3 separate regions of the Homo sapiens genome follow, and all the other regions are linked to region 2. The links are contacts of gene promoters, found by promoter capture Hi-C in blood cells and fetal thymus (Javierre and others, 2016). All regions are on one chromosome and are shown on one strand. The core of a region is centred on a gene start or on the middle of the fragment in contact, and the rest is flanking DNA. Distances in the headings are between cores, read along the strand shown. Region 1 holds the start of MRPS35 (mitochondrial ribosomal protein S35). Region 2 holds the start of BHLHE41 (basic helix-loop-helix family member e41). Region 3 holds the start of BMAL2 (basic helix-loop-helix ARNT like 2).

Region 1 (2,700 bases), core at 172-2,671, 1.6 Mb before region 2:
CATTGTCCTTCTTCCCGTTCCTTGATCACACCCCTCAGATTGTTCTCAACTTTTGGCCTTTGCACTTATAGTTCCCCATACCCCAAAGGCTCTTTCCCCATATCTCTGCATGGCTTGGGGCCCTGTTCAAATGTCACTTCCTCAGAAAGATCTTTCCTGACCATCCTGTGGCCACTACTCCCCCCAAATCCATCATTCTCAATACTCTACTTTATTTTTCTTCAAAGCATTAAACCCTATCTGACATCTTATTTAGTTGTTTGGTTGTTTATACTATTGACTTCCCCACCTTGCCGTATCTCCGGTGAGTGTCTAGAACACTGCATGGTATACAATAGGAGTTAAGTATTCCAAGAATTTAAGAATGAAAATTTAAAAATAGACAATTATTAGACCTATGAAGAGCCAGTATGAAGGATTAATGTATTTATAGTTTATCTGAAAACAATGGGAAACCATTTGTAGATCTTGAACATGAGAGCAGCAAGACAAGATCTAAATTTTGAAAACCTCATTTGGCTGTTTTGAGAATTCAATGTAGGAGAGCAAGAGGGGAAACAGGAAACGGAAAAAAAACTTGTAGAAATGAGATGGTCACCTGAACTAGATAGTTGGTAGTATGAGGAGAGTAAATTAGAGATATAACAGGAAGTAGCACAGGTAGGATCCGCCTATTGATTAGACTCACGCCAGCTCCTCCTCAACGCTCCCGTCATTCTAGCCACACTTCTATCACAGCGCCTCTCACCCTACATAGCACTTCTCCGCTAATAAATCTGTATTTTCCACTAGAGTCCTCCGGGGTAAGCACGCTATCAAGCATCCCTACAATCTCTGTTAAATGGAGGTCATCAACGCCTGTTGAATGAAGGCCGCCCATTTGGTGGCCTGGAATTCAGAGCAGCAATTTGTCCTAGCACAGCCGTATGACTCTCTTAATGTTTGGGGAAATCCATGGTTCAACAGCGCCGATGCCCGATAAACAACACAGCACCAGTAACCTGTGCCAGGGGCTGTGGACGGGGGCAACACAGGAGCAGGTCACGGGGAAGGGGGATGTAAGCTTTCTGAGCAAACTCCCAGAGCACCCAGGGCAGAAACAGGCGGCTAGAAGCCGGGCAACGCGGGTGCAGAGCACAGACCCACGTCCATGGTTTTCCTACCAGACGGGCCTGGCAGCGGACGCACTGGCCTCCCCCGGGCGGCGCTGGCTCAGCCACCGCGGCACCCTTCATGAGGCCGGTATTCCGCTCTTGCACCTCCCCCAAAGCCCAGAGAAGACGAGACAGACACTCACGCAGGCTAGGTGTCGGGACCGGAGTGGCCGAGTAGACGGCAGTGGAGAATGCACGCAGAGTCCTTGCCCTCGACTGCAGAGACAGCCATGCTGGGAGCGCGGCGGCCGCCATGGCTGCGAGGACGGCAAGCCGGAGGGGACAAGCGGCGTTCAGTGTCAGGGGCGGGCCTGGGGCCGCTAAGCGCAGGCTCCCTGGGCTGGCACCGCCCTAGGCTGGAGAAAGAGGAAACACGTTGGTCTGCGCACTCAGAGCCGAGTCAAATGTGCAGGAAGATTCCCCCAAACTGAAAGAAGTAATGAAAAGAAAACAAAAAAAATCCTTAAAAATCGAGTGAATCAGTTCGTAGAGAATTGCAGATAAAGACCGTAGGGATAGGGGTTGCGGCTCACTGAAGGCGGGCGTGCTCTGGGTGGAACCTCAGTTGATCCGAGAGTCAGGCGGTCTACCCGAGGGACTCTTGTTATTTATAATTGTTGCTTTTCTACATTTACTTGGATTAAAGAAGTCTTCAACTAATGCCAGTAATATGCGCTAAGGGGAGAGAAGCAGTATCCCGAGCCAGAGTGCTTGGGTTTCAAACTTGACTTCACCACTTCTGGGATGTATGATCTCAGACAAGTTAGCATAGACAAATATTTGTGTACAGCGTTGGCATACAGTGAACACCGCGTGTACGTAGCCTATAACTTTTAGCTATATATGGTTAGCTTGTTGTTAGATCAGCTTAGAATTACAGAAAGTCAGAACTCATCAGGACCTAGAAAATAAACTTTTAATGAACACTCTTAAATTTTCTACGGTAGGATGAATTAACATACAAGCCTTAATAAAACAATTCTCGGCCGGACGCGGTGGCTCGCGCCTGTAATCCCAGCACTTTGGGATCCCGAGGCGGGTGGATCACCTGAGGTCAGGAGTTTGGGACCAGCCTGACCAACATGGAGAAACCTGGTCTCTACTAAAAATACAAAATTAGCCGGGTGTGGTGGCACATGCCTGTAATCCCAGCTACTCGAGAGAAGAATCGCATGAACCCGGGAGGCAGAGGTTGCGATGAGCCGAGATCGCGCCATTGCACTCCAGCCTGGGCAATAAAAGCAAAACTCCGCCTCAAAAATAAAATAAAATAAAATAAATTCTCTATTTTCTCTTTATTTTAAAAATTATTTTAATTAATTAATTAATTATTATTATTTTTGAGACAGAGTCTTGCTCTGTTGCTAGGCTGGAATGTGGTAGCAGGACCATGGCCCACTGCAGCCTTGACCTCCCAGGCTCAAGTGATCCTCCTACCTCAGCCTTTCAAGTAGCTGAGGCTACAGGCACGCACCACCACACCCAGCTAATTAAAAAAAAAATTGTTTTTCCAGAGATGAGGTCTCACAGTGTTGCCAGGGCTGGT
Region 2 (2,700 bases), core at 201-2,700:
CTGGTGCATGTACCTTTGGCGTTCTTCTCCCCTCGGTTCACTTATCACCGGCAATAATCAACGTTTCAGAGATCACCCCGGGGAGAATGTAAATATCCCTCTCTGTGCAGGAAAAACCTTGGTTTTTTTCTCTATGTCTTTATGTATATCTAGAGAAATATATATATAGCCTCCATCCCACCCCTGGGAGTCCCTCAGGACATGCCTTCCCCTGGGCTGGCAGGGCGGCGTGGGCAGTGCGCATCCCCGGGCACCTCCCGGTAACTCTCACTAGCAGTGAGTCATGCTCCCAGGGTGGCTCTGGGGAAAGGTAACCCGGCTCTTGCTGGCCTGTGATTCCCGGCGCCGAGCGCCGCGGCTGCAGGGCGAGCGCGCGCGCGCACGGGTTCCCCGAGCAGTGATGTGGCAGCAGCGGCAGGTCGGATCACGTTGCTGGCCCTGTGCTGGTACCCGTTTGAGACCGGATTAAGGAGGGAGGCTTTGGAGGTGCCAGCGGTAGTAAACGTGGGCTCTGCACACTCCGGGCGTCTCTTATCGCGCGGGGGGGCGGGGGGATGGGGAAAGCACGTAGCGTCACCGGAGGCTCAGAACGCGGCAGAGTTGAGCGGGCGGGTGATAAATGCTGCATAGCTTTTCTGTGGTAGCCCCTCTCGTGCCACCCCCTCTCGTGCCACCCCCTTCTCCCTTCCCAGCCCCCACTCAACCCCGGCTCGCTCCCCGCCGCGTTCCTCCAGGAGCACACGCGGCCCCAAACGTCGTCATCTGCTGCTGTGATTAGTGGCACCGCAATTCCGGCTGCTGCGGGGAAGTTTAGTTGGCCCAGGGACGCCGTGTCACCGAAAGACACTTGGATTGCGACATTCGGACCCAGTGACAACGTTTTCATGTATCTTAAATCCTTCAAGGAGCGGATTGCAAGTTGCTTCTTCTCGAGGCAACCTCTCCACCCAGCGCCAAGGAGTCCCTCCAGGCCACTGATCAGTGAGCAAACAAGTCTCCAAAATTTCCTTTGGGACTCAAGTTTACCCACCGCGAATTCTCTTTTCACTTCCTTTCTATGGTTCAAACCAACAGCACAATCGGTGGAAAAGCAAAAAGCCACGTTCACATTCCTGCACCGTAACAACGGACGAACCCAGGGAGTCGCATTTTGGAGCCAAGGAAGCTCAGGCTGCCCCGCACCCCTGCACCCCCACTCCCCCCTCCTCCTGCCGACTGCATCGCCTTTGGGAAGATGAATAGCTTGGCCGAAGTTGTTTTTCCTTTCCGGTGGCCCTGATCAGGTGTCCCCGCCCCCTCCTGCCGTTCGCCTTCTCTCGCCGCCTTCTCCCGACGCCCCCGCCCGGCCCGGCCCCTCCTCCCCCGCCCCCCTCCGGGCTGGACCGCGGATGGTACGTTCCGCACGTGAGCTGGGTGCTGGTCTGGCCGGCGACGCGCGTGCCCTGTGGCCAAACACTGCCTGGAGTGAGAGCAAACTACCAGCGCAGTGGGGCCGGCGCGAGTGTGCGTGTGTGTGCGTGTGTGTGTGCGAGCGCGGTGGAGGGGGGGGACCAACTGCTTCACACTTTCAACACTGCACTGAAGAGGGAGAGCGAGAGAGAGACTGGAGACGCACAGATCCCCCCAAGGTCTCCCAAGCCTACCGTCCCACAGATTATTGTACAGAGCCCCAAAAATCGAAACAGAGGAAACGAACAGCAGTTGAACATGGACGAAGGAATTCCTCATTTGCAAGAGAGACAGTTACTGGAACATAGAGATTTTATAGGGTAAGGTGCACGCACCCTTGCGAATATCTGTCTAGGCTTTGGTTTGATTTTTTTCTTCTCCAGAAAGTGGTATGGAGCTGGCGAGGGCAGAGCCCCTCCCCGAATGGGTGCCTGATGCTGATTTCTGTTTTGCAGACTGGACTATTCCTCTTTGTATATGTGTAAACCCAAAAGGAGCATGAAACGAGACGACACCAAGGTAAGTGTAAGTTCCCGATATTCCTCATAACCTGCATGGGTAGTTAATTAGAGCCATTGATTTCACAGTGAAGCTCTGCCCGCAAATATATTCCAGCCCCTGAGCTTCCCCAACTGTGAATTTTAAGTGGCTTGCTGGGTACTCTCAGGGGGATATTAAACATCATACCTGAATTTAAATTGCATTGCAGAACAGTCCAGAGGAAAGAGGTTTCTTGGGTGTAGTTTATCACATAGTATGTTTTATGGTGGGGGGGCGGGGGGGGCAGACGAGGGTAATATCCAATAAGTGAATGTTTCGCTTACTGTTTTCTCTTTTCCATGACTCTCATATATTAAGGATACCTACAAATTACCGCACAGATTAATAGAAAAGAAAAGAAGAGACCGAATTAATGAATGCATTGCTCAGCTGAAAGATTTACTGCCTGAACATCTGAAATTGACAGTAAGATGCACATTTTCATTCTTTGCTGCTCTCCAAGGGCGTGTTAATAGTCTGGTGCGACTCCCAGAAAATATAAGAATAAATGTAAATATAAGTTCCTGACTTAAAACTTGTGCTATACCGTACAGAGTTTCCCGCAAACTGGAGTAGGTGCTCCCAGCTGAAGGCAAGAAATCATTTATAACCTGTCTTGTGGAAAGCTCAAGAAGTAAAAGAACAGTACTTCTTTCAAAGTGTTTGCTTAAATTGCTGTGCTGAATGGACAGCCAATTAAGCCAAATGTGT
Region 3 (2,700 bases), core at 192-2,691, 1.2 Mb before region 2:
CAGACAGTAAAGGGCAGAGCTCAGTCACAAGACGGAGCAGAAAGGGTGTCAGAGCTTATAAACACCACACGTGCCATCTTCTATTTTCAACAAAGGGTTTACCTAAGACTACGAATATTCAAATGATCGAATTTCTGAAATCGCCCCATGATGTAAATTCCCACAATTATATTAGAATTTCGAAAGCCACCTCCTCTCATTGCCTTATTTCAGAGAAGAATCTAAAACTCTATCATCTTATTCCAAAAGGAAAGGGGAGAATTAACTGCTTCCCTGAACTTCTCTGCCAGTCTTCCTTCAGTTATTTCTGTTTTCCTGCCTCTCATTTGTCTTAAACAACAGCTATTTTGTATTCATTCCGTAATTGTGAGCAGTGGTCCCAAAGGCCCCGTTGTAAGGAACTACAGAATACTGCCAGTGAATACTAGCGAGAAGGAAAAAGCACCGCAAACTTCCAACTCCATTCACAAAAATACCACAGAAATACATAATCGAACAAGCTAACTCCACTGACGGCTTTCCTGAAGCTTCAGCGGTGAAAGACACGAGCCGCCTGTCGCTTATGGAGGGCTGTCGCGGAGCGGGCTGCGATCCCGGAGTGTGGCCCCGCGTCCACGCGCACCTGCCCACCTGCGCGCTCCACCGCGGGGCAGCGGTTCAAGCCGGGAAGCCGCGAGTATTATCAGCTCAGAGGGGAGGGGTTCACAGGAACCGGGCTAGGTCCGAGGCTGCTGACAACTGGTTTACACAAAAGAAAGAAGAAATATAGGAAGTCCCCGCAGCAGTGCATGCCATGCCGACGCCGACGCGGGCGCCCAGCAGTGGGTGGAGGCGGATGCTCCCAGCGCCGGGTGCAAGGTCCCCCGCTGGCTCCCTTTCGCCAATGCGCCCGGCCCGGGACCAAGACACCGCGTCCTGAGCGCCGGCGGCGACCCCAGCTCCCCTCCCCGCGTCCCGCTCCCCGGGAGGACGCGCCGGGCGCCGCGCCGCACCTGTGCCCCACGGGGCGGCCTTGTCCCACCGCCCCTCGGAGGCGATGCTCCGGCCCGAGAGGACAGGCGCGGGCGCTTCCCTCGGGGCAGCGGGGGCAGACCTGGCGTCGCGGGGACGCCCCCAGCGCGTCAGACGCCGCGCGCCCACCTGGGGCCGTCGCCTCGCCACCGGCAACCTCACCTCCCGCCGCAGCCTCCTCTTCCGCCGCCATCGCAGGAGCCACTTGGTCGGCTCCGCAGCCCCGCGGCTGGCAGCATGGAGGAGCCCCGGGCCCGCCCTGCCCCGGCCCAGGCGGCGGCTCTGGAGCAGGGAAGCGGGGACTGGCGGGCCCTGCCGGGTGCCGCGGCGGCCGCCACCGCAGCCCGTAGGCGCGCACGGGACGCCGCCCCGCAGCCCGGCCGGCAGCAGCTACTGAGCATGCGGACTGGAGCCAGCCGCCCGCCGCTCTGGGCGCCGCGGGGCTTCCCGGCGGGAAAGAGACCCGGGCCAAGGGCGGAGTCGCTGCGGACACCGCCCCGCCGAGCCCTCCCGCGAGCAGCAAAGCACTAAAAGGCCAGTTGAGTCCTTCTAGCAACCACCCTATTGAAAACAGGCTTCCATGCTCATAGTAAGCTTTGTCCCAGCATTCCGAAGATTGCAGTTGTTAGACCCTCGGGGCAAAGGTAAAGGATGAATGAAGATAATTGCACGGTGGGTTAGCGGAGGGCACGGGGCTAGGGTTGGGGAGGAGGGTGCTGGACGAGAGACCCTGCTCTTTTCTGCTTAAGGAAGGGCTTAGCTGCAGAGACGAGAGTGTAGATGACAGAGAGAGGGTCCCGAGGAAGCCGTTTTGCCTCCTGGAACGGTTGGGTAAATCCAGAAACAAGATCTTTTGGGCATCACTTGACAGCCCTACATCCTATGGCCACGTGTCTAGAATACACTGGTTTGCTGCCCTCCCACTGGTCCCTAGACCCATTCCTTGGTAATCTAGTAGAAGTAAGTAAAGGAAAGTCACAGTAGAGAAGACACCAAATCAAACTTTGCAACCAGCCTAAAGGTAATAACTTTCCTACAAGGACTCAATTCCAACGTCTTAACCAGCACCTTATGTGTCCTCAGGGCAGTACTTAGGGCCATTGTGAGAGGCTGGGCAGAGGGTTTGGAAGTGTGTTCCCAAGCAGAAGTGGGCATGACAGGAGAAAACTGTTGCAGGCTTAAGCAGGGGCTAGGACTTTAGAGGTAAGGGAGACGTGCTGAAAACTGTGCTGTCCTCAACACACACCAAGACACATCCCTAATCAAAACCAGTCTTGAAACGTCTCATTCCTAGCTTTGACTTGGAACTCCACCCCAAATTCTACCAACACCAACTTCTCCTGGCAGCTAGAAACAGTAATTCCATACAGGGTTTCCCGAATGTGATCAAACCTTGGCTTTCCAGACAAGTGTACACTATTTTGAGGTGGTTTACCAAGGGGTAACAGGTAGAATTAATTAGACCTGGGCTTTAAGATCTGGGTTAAAATGTAAATACTATTCTATACATGGCCTTGCTTACAATGCATTTTCCCCCTTATCGGCTCAGTGAGCCTCACAACCTCTTTCTTAATTCCTGTCTTAGTAGAGAAACAGAAGTTCAGAGATGTCGAGTATTTTGGCCAGGATCACTCAGCTAGTAGATAGTAGAAGCAAGACCATAAAAGTTAGGTCTCCTTCTTAGGAGTT

What was found. Contacts are between HindIII fragments. The CHiCAGO score rates a contact against its expected background, and 5 or more counts as called.
Region 1: the fragment with the promoter of MRPS35 here is called in contact with the fragment with the promoter of BHLHE41 in region 2 in 2 of 17 cell types (fetal thymus and non-activated CD4 T cells); the score reaches 6.7 in fetal thymus.
Region 3: the fragment with the promoter of BMAL2 here is called in contact with the fragment with the promoter of BHLHE41 in region 2 in 1 of 17 cell types (fetal thymus); the score reaches 9.2 in fetal thymus.

Annotation. Positions count from the first base shown.
Region 1 is chr12:27,709,553-27,712,252 of GRCh38, reverse strand. It overlaps MRPS35 (mitochondrial ribosomal protein S35), which reads right to left and starts at 1,421. Exons shown (of 8, transcript NM_021821.4): 1 at 1,298-1,421. The coding sequence starts at 1,409. It overlaps MRPS35-DT (MRPS35 divergent transcript), which reads left to right and starts at 1,506. Exons shown (of 5, transcript XR_001749448.2): 1 at 1,506-1,590. RefSeq lists enhancers at 1,001-1,790, 1,801-1,880, 1,911-1,990. The HindIII fragment of the contact is 2,856 bases long and covers 1,066-2,700 here.
Region 2 is chr12:26,123,787-26,126,486 of GRCh38, reverse strand. BHLHE41 (basic helix-loop-helix family member e41) reads left to right here and starts at 1,450. Exons shown (of 5, transcript NM_030762.3): 1 at 1,450-1,769; 2 at 1,905-1,968; 3 at 2,308-2,415. The coding sequence starts at 1,708. It also overlaps a transcript of SSPN not described here. RefSeq lists a silencer at 1-38. The HindIII fragment of the contact is 3,679 bases long and covers 1-2,700 here.
Region 3 is chr12:27,331,577-27,334,276 of GRCh38, reverse strand. BMAL2 (basic helix-loop-helix ARNT like 2) reads right to left here and starts at 1,441. Exons shown (of 17, transcript NM_020183.6): 1 at 1,174-1,441. The coding sequence starts at 1,204. It overlaps LOC124902906 (a long non-coding RNA gene), which reads left to right and starts at 1,480. Exons shown (of 2, transcript XR_007063255.1): 1 at 1,480-1,655. RefSeq lists silencers at 948-1,067, 1,088-1,557. The HindIII fragment of the contact is 1,078 bases long and covers 530-1,607 here.